2 separate regions of the Homo sapiens genome follow, and region 1 is linked to region 2. Evidence: promoter capture Hi-C in 16 types of primary human blood cells and fetal thymus (Javierre and others, 2016). All regions are on one chromosome and are shown on one strand. The core of a region is centred on a gene start or on the middle of the fragment in contact, and the rest is flanking DNA. Distances in the headings are between cores, read along the strand shown.

Region 1 (3,551 bases), core at 673-3,172, 240 kb before region 2:
CACTGCAGAGGGGTGGAGACAACACACATTGAGGCCTGGGCAGCACGCAGGCTGATTCAGTCCTGATTACACGTGGAAGCTGGAATGCTGGCCTCCTTTTCCCTCCAGCCATTTTCATTGCATTTCTTCCTGTGTTTTTCTTCCACCTAATGTGGCCTATAGAGAGATTCGATGCCCCAACCCAGGCTGACACCATCTGGATTTGCTTGCTTGTTAGTTCTGCCTTTCCTTACCCGACCCCGCCCCCCATTTCTGCTCAACTCCTGATGCTTTTACAAGAAGCCCTGCTCCTCATCGGGCCTGTTTCCTTATCTGTAAAAGAAGAGCTAGGTGGACCTTCCAATTCTAAGATCCCATTCCATGCAACACCCCTTGATCCGGTTTCGATTTTTTTTTTTTTTTTTTTTTTTTTTTTTTTGCAAATCTGTTCCTTCCTTTTACCCCATTTCGTTCGCATTCCAGTCCAGGATGACGACCCGGGATCCCAGCCGGATTTTCCAGCCCGCCTGCCCGAGTACACCCGTCCGAATCCCGCCCCTCGGAATCCTGGCCAGGCTTTCTCTCTGCTCGGCCCCCCACCCCCGGGTCTTGCTCACCTGGGCCGTGGCTGATGCGACTGGAGTCGGGAGGCGTGTCGGGCGATGGAGGCCCCGGGGTTGGGGGCTCCGGGAACATGGTGGCGGGGTCCTGGAGTCTTTTCTGCAGAGACACTCAAGCACCCTAGTCCCCCATTCCCACCCCAGACGTCCTTTGAGCCCCACGCACAACAAAGAACTCCAACTCCCATGAGGCCTTTGCGCGAACAGCCGCGCAGAAACCGGACAGCCACCGCGAGTCATGCTGGGAGTTGTAGTATCAGCCTCCCCGCACTTGAGAGGGGGTGTCCAGGACCTAGTTCCATCCTAAAGGGATACCCTCTTCCTCCACGGCCCCACAGGCATCCCGCTGACTTCTGCCTCGTCCTCGCCCCTCCGCAGGGTCTGAACCGGAAGCGGGCGAAGGCAGACGTGGGAACCAGCAGACCGCGTTGCCCAGAGCAACAGCCGGGCTCCTCTCAAGCGGGGTGAGAGCAAAGCTGGTTGCCCGGGCAACGGGTTGTTGCCAGGACAACGGGCGGGGCTGACGCACAGACGCGGAGTCCCGGCGGGGCAGGCTCGCTCCGGGGCCCACCGGTGCCTGGGAACCCCCCAATAGCCCGACTGGGATCCTGAGGTCCCGCGAGGTGGGGAGCGGGCAGCCTGTGGTCCGAGCGCCCACAGCCGACTGCTCCCTCCGCACCTGGTCCTGGGAGCTGAGACGCAGGTTCCCTCTTCCCTCTCCCCAATTTTGCTGGAGGGCGGGTCGGGGGCTGCCCGGTGCCTGTGCTGAGCCCCCTCATCCTTCTTGGCCTGTTGGTCTCTCCACGCATCCGTGCTGCTCTCGTGACCGCCTCGGTCTCCACGCTGCCTCTTGACCCCACATAGGCGTCTTCCCTGTGTCTGCCTCCCCAACCCGCCTGTCTCTCTTCCCTATCGCCTGGCCTCTGTCTCCAGGGTCTCTCCCTCTCCCCTCCGCCTGCGCCCCACTCCCCGCCCTCGGCTCTTTGTCTTCTCCATACCTGTCTCGCGTCCCCAGATCCCTGTCTCTCCGCTTCAGGCTGCTGCCCTCCCTCTGGTTGTCTCCCCAGTGCCCCAGCCCCCACTCGCACACCCCTTTCCTCTAGGGATGCGGATGCGGATGGGCTGAGGGCGGGGGTCCCAGCAGCTCCTACCTGCTCGGCGGCTGGACGGGACACTCCCGGGAGACGCCGAGGCGCCAGCCCCGCCCGGACCCCACCCCCTGCACGTGGGCGGTGGCGCTGTCCCGGGTGCTGATCGCGGAGCTCTCCGGGGCGGGGGAGCCGCGGAGCGGAGCAGGATCCCGTGCGCGCGTGTGTGCCCGTGTGCGTGTGCGCGCGTGTGTGGTGTGTATTGTGTGTGCCCGTATTTGGTCTCGGGTAGGCGGAAAGCCCTGCCCCGCCCCTCCTCCCGCCTCCACCCGGGAACCTCGATGACGCCCACAGATGTTTATCCTGGTGCTTTAGCATTTTCTGCCTTCTGGTCCAGTCGTTGGCCGTCCAGACCACTCCACTCCTCCCGCCCCAACACACACGACACACACCCTGTATAGCCCAAAGAACGGCATGCCAGGATACTCAGTCCTAGGACCTAGGAGACCCCAGACCCCCATTGGAGACCCAGACTCTGCAGGGTTCAGCATCAAAGTCCCCAGCTATCAGCCCCCAGACATCGCCCTCTAAGTTCCCCTAACACCAGTCCCAGGAGGCGGCCAGTGCGGTGGCTCATACCTGTAACCTCAGCACTTTGGGAGGCCGAAGCAGGAGGAATGCTTGAGCCCAGGAGCTGGAGACCAGCCTGGGCAACATAGCAAAATCCCGTCTCTACAAAAATGAGCCAGCGTGGTGGTGCGCACTTGTGATGGCAGCTACTCTAGAGGCTGAGGTGGGAAGATCACCTGGGCCCAGGAGGTCAAGGCTGCAGTGAGCCACTGCACTCCAGTCTGGGCAACAGAGCAAGACCATGTCTCAAAAACAAAAACAAAAACAGAACAAAACAACAACAACAACAACAGAGAAGAGTAAAAGAAAAGCTCAGAAGGCAAGTCCCCAAGCACCTAGCTCCAGCGAGCCCTGTCCATACTGCCCAGACCCTGGACACAGACGTCTGGACACTGCCTTCTCTGAGAGACTCAACCACCCAAACCTACATTTTTTCATGTGCAAATGTGTGGGTCCCTCTAGTCCCCTCCTGGACGTTCGCCTCGATCCCTAGATACCAGGAACCCATCCCTACTCCCAATCCAATATTATTTCCAGACCCAGAAATCCATGGGACAACTGTCTCTGGGGAGAACAGTGATTTAATAAATTATGGGATAGAAGGAAAAATACATGTGGATGGTGGGGTGCAGAGAGACCTTGGGCACAGGGACTCCCTCCGACCCCAGATTATAGAAGACTGATTTGGTTTCTGAAGTAAAATCAAGGCAGGATCCTTCCTGCCTTTGGTCCTCAAGTAGCCAGAACTCCAGACCCAAATTCCTTCCTGCCTCAGAATCCAGGCCCCAGCCTGTTTCTTTCTGCATCCTGGAAAGACCTAGGGAATCCAAGCTATCATCCCTCTCCTCCTTCAGGGAACCAGGAATCCAGATCCCCAGCTCCCATAGGACTCATCTGAAGCCCACCAGACCACTCTCTCCTGGGGAAACCAGAGTTTGGGATACCAGCCCCCTCCTCCCACAGCACCCAGGAGTCTGGGAGCCCAGCCCTCTGCTCTTCCAGGAATCTGGGCTCAAGTGGGTGTCCAGAGCTTGAGGATGCCTGGGCTGCCGACCCAGCCCCCTCGTCACTTAGACCTCCAACTTGTGGGCCTGGATGGCGGCCACGTTCTCGTAGATGAGGTTTTCGACATCCTCATACGGGACTTCCTTCTCGGCTGGGGCCTGGGCTGACTGTTGGAGGAACCGCAGGATGCACTGATGCAGGAATACGTACTGAGCCTGGGAAGCAGGCA
Region 2 (3,658 bases), core at 263-2,762:
ACCTGGATTCTTTAAAAAATCAGCATTAAAAAAGGCAAAGACTGGGCTGGGCGTGGTGGCTGCCACCTGTAATCCCAGCACTTTGGGAGGCTGAGGCAGGAGGATCACTTGAGCCCAGGAGTTCTAGCCTGGGCAACATAGTGAGACCCCTTCTCTTAAAAAAAACATCTCCTTAATCTCTGCGTGAATTGTGTGCAATAATAAAAAATAAAAATAGAAAAGAAAGACAAAGACTGAGTAACTGTTTCAGAGTGAAGCCACCTCAGCCGGGCGCAGTGGCTCATGCCTGTAATCCCAGCACTTTGGGAGGCCGAGGCGGGCGGATCACAAGGTCAGGAGATCGAGACCATCCTGGCTAACATGGGGAAACCCCGTCTCTACTGAAAATAGAAAAAAATCAGCCAGGCTTGGTGGCGGGCACGTGTAGTCCCAGCTACTTGGAAGGCTGAGGCAGGAGAATGGCGTGAACCCAGGAGGCGGAGCTTGCAGTGAGCTGAGATCGCACCACTGCACTCCAGCCTGGGCAACAGAGCGAGACTCTGTCTCAAAAAAAAAAAAAAAAAAAAGAAGCCACCTCAAGAAGCACAATAGCTGCATGCAACACCCAATCCTGGAGTGTCACAAACTGAAAGCTGCTCTGAAAGACAGTAGCAGGACGCTTGATGCAATTCAAACATGGACTTGGTCAATGCTAAATTCTTGAGTGTGATAATTATGCTGTGGATGTGTAAGAGAGTGGCCTTGTTCTTCAGAATGGCCTCTAGGGGTAAAGGGATGTGATAGGTGCAACTTACTCCCAAATATCTCCAAAAAAAAAAAACACGATTTTTTTCTTTTTTTTAGAAGGTGTCTCGCTCTGTAACCCAGGCTGGAGTGCAATGGCACGATCTCGGCTCACTGCAACTTCCGCCTCCCAGGTTCAAGCGATTCTCCCGCCTCAGCCTCCTGAGTAGCTGGGATTACAGGCACCCACCACCACGCCTGGCTAATTTTTGTATTTTTAGTAGAGACGGGGTTTCACCATGTTAACCGGGATGGTCTTGATCTCCTGACCTCGTGATCTGCCCGCCTCGGCCTCCCAAAATGCTGGGATTACAGGGGTGAGCCACTGCACCTGGCTTTTTTTTTTCTTTCTTTTTTTTGATGGAGTTTTGCTCTTGTTGCCCAGGCTGTGGTGCAATGGCACGATCTTGGCTCACTGCAACCTCTGCCTCCTGGGTTCAAGCAAGTCTCCTGCCTCAGCCTACCGAGTAGCTGGGATTACAGGCGCCTGCCACCACGCCCAGCTAATTTTTTGTATTTTTAGTGGAGACGGGGTTTCATTATGTTGGCCAGGCTGGTCTCAAACTCCTGACCTTAGGTGATCCACCTGCCTCAGCCTCCCAAAGTGCTGGGATTACAGACATGAGCCACCATGTCCGGCATTTTTTTTTTTTTTTTTTTTATGAGACAGGTTCTGGCTTTGTGGCCCAGGCTGGAGTGCAGTGGTGTGATCTTGGCTGACTGCAACCTCTACCTCCTGGGCTCAAGCGATCCTCCCGCCTCAGCCTCCTGAGTAGCTGGAACTACAGGTGCATGCCAGCATGCCCAGCTAATTTTTTGTGTGCATATATATATATATATATTTTGTTGTTGTTGTTGTTGTTTTGTTGTTGTTGTTGTTGTTTTGGTAGAGATGAGGTTTCACCATGTTGCCCAGGCTGATGTCAAACTCCTGAGCTTAAGCAATCCACCCATCTCGGCCTCTCAAAGTGTTGGGATTACAGGTATGAGCCACCGTGCCCAGCCGAGATGAATATTTATATGGAAAGAAAACCATACAATGATGTCATATAATGGTAACAAATGGTGAGTTGGTGAAAATGACACAGAAGTTCTTTGACTTATTCTTGTAACTGTTCTGTACATTTGAAATTATTTCAAAATATAAAGTCAAGAAAAGTGAAATGAAAAAGCATGCACACAACATCTGGCATAGATTTGAGACATTCACAAGCCCACCCTTCAAATGCGGGTTAAGAATAGCTGCTGAGAGGCTGCATTTATTGGCACAGTCGGGTTGCCAGTTGAGCGAGTGTTAGGTGACAAAGGCGAACACTGAAGGCAGAATGCTCATGTCAGATCTTATCCTTGACTTGCCCGCCCTGCACACAGTGGGTGTGGAGCAGATTGCTCTTCTCTTGTTGAACACAAATGAATCCGTTGGCTGGCATGTGGCATCCATGAGGAATGAAAATACATACACTGAAGCACTGGAGTTCCGATTCAGAGTGGGAAGCTAATCACCCTCTGAGGGAGAGGAATGAGACTCCAGTCGCCCATCTCTCTCACGTGTCTTGGCATATGCTTAGTGAGGGGAATGGCAGGCAAAGTCTGCACCATTTGCATTTAAATCTACGCTGTGGGAGGCTGAGGTGGGAGGATCGCTCGAGGTCAGGAGTTCAAGACTAGCCTGGTCAGCATAGCCAGATTCCCATCTCTACATTTATATTTTTTTAAATTCTTTTTTCTTTCTTTTCTGTTAATTAATTAATTAATTAATTTATTTATTTATTAGGCAGAGTCTCACTCTGCCAGCCAGGCTGGAGTGCAGTGGCACGATCTTGGCGATCTCAGCGATCTTGGCTCACTGCAACCTCCTCCTCCTGAGTTCAAGCGATTCTCCTGCTGCAGAATTTAAAAATTCTATTAAAAAAAAAAAGTAGGGCCAGGCATGGTGGCTCATGCCTGTAATCCCAGCACTTTGGGAGGCCGAGGTGGGCAGATTATCTGAGGTCAGGAGTTCGAGACCAGCCTGGCCAATGTGGCGAAACCCCGTCTCTAGTAAAAATACAAAAATTAGCTGGGGGCCTGGTGGTGGGCACCTGTAATCCCAGCTAGTCAGGAGGCTGAGGATCACTTGGGGAATCAAGGCTGCAGTGAGCTGAGATTGCACCACTGCACTCCAGCCTCTGCAATAGAGCAACACCCTGTCTAAAAAACAAAACAAAACAGTAGAGAGTACACTTGCCGATACAAAAATCCAGAAGTGCAAAAGGGCATTTAGAAGTAAAAAGCCCCAGCCATCCAGTTCCCCTCTCCATAAGCAACCCTGTCAGCCAGAATGGGCTATGCTAGGCTGCAGTAACAAGTAGCCCCAAAGCCCTGGTTGTTAAAGCAACAAGAGTTTATTTCTCATTCGTGCTACATGTGCATCTGCGGCTGGTGGAGCCCCTATTTGGCATCATCCTTACTCTGGGGCCCTGGCTGATCTGCCTGGGACTCAGGCCAGCAGAGCAGCTATGACCTGAAATATGCCAGTGCCCATGGAGGAGGGAAAAGACAGAGCATGGGAGAACCACACCCTGTCTCTCACAAGCTTCTGCCTGGAAAGATACTTCTGCCCGCACTTCATAGGCCAAGGCAAGTCGCACGGGCACAGCTAACTTCGGGGGCAGGGAAATAGAATCCTACCATGTGCCCAGGAGGAGAATTGGAAATATTTGGTGCAGCAAATTTATATACAGATTCTGTTCCCCGCTCCTTTTACACAAATGGTAGCATTCATGCACACTATTCTATATCTTGCTTTCTTACTTAACAATAAACCTTGGAGACTATTTCACACTGGGTGATGTGGGCAACATCCAAGGCATCCTCATTCTCTTTTATACAGCTT

The links. The method cuts DNA at HindIII sites, captures the fragments that hold promoters and counts their contacts. A CHiCAGO score of 5 or more calls a contact.
Region 1: the fragment with the promoter of SYT5 here is called in contact with a fragment that was not itself captured in region 2 in 8 of 17 cell types (erythroblasts, M2 macrophages, M0 macrophages and 5 more); the score reaches 7.8 in erythroblasts.

Annotation. Positions count from the first base shown.
Region 1 is chr19:55,178,367-55,181,917 of GRCh38, forward strand. SYT5 (synaptotagmin 5) reads right to left here and starts at 1,923. Exons shown (of 9, transcript NM_003180.3): 1 at 1,751-1,923; 2 at 597-720; 3 at 1-2. The coding sequence starts at 675. It overlaps PTPRH (protein tyrosine phosphatase receptor type H), which reads right to left. Exons shown (of 20, transcript NM_002842.5): 20 at 2,881-3,537. The coding sequence ends at 3,388. RefSeq lists an enhancer at 1,389-1,468 and silencers at 1,456-1,868, 1,749-1,938. The HindIII fragment of the contact is 13,685 bases long and covers 1-3,551 here.
Region 2 is chr19:55,421,597-55,425,254 of GRCh38, forward strand. All of the region lies in intron 2 of LOC105372462 (a long non-coding RNA gene), which reads left to right. Among named protein-coding and RNA genes, the nearest start is that of UBE2S, 16 kb to the left of the region's middle. The HindIII fragment of the contact is 3,688 bases long and covers 1-3,356 here.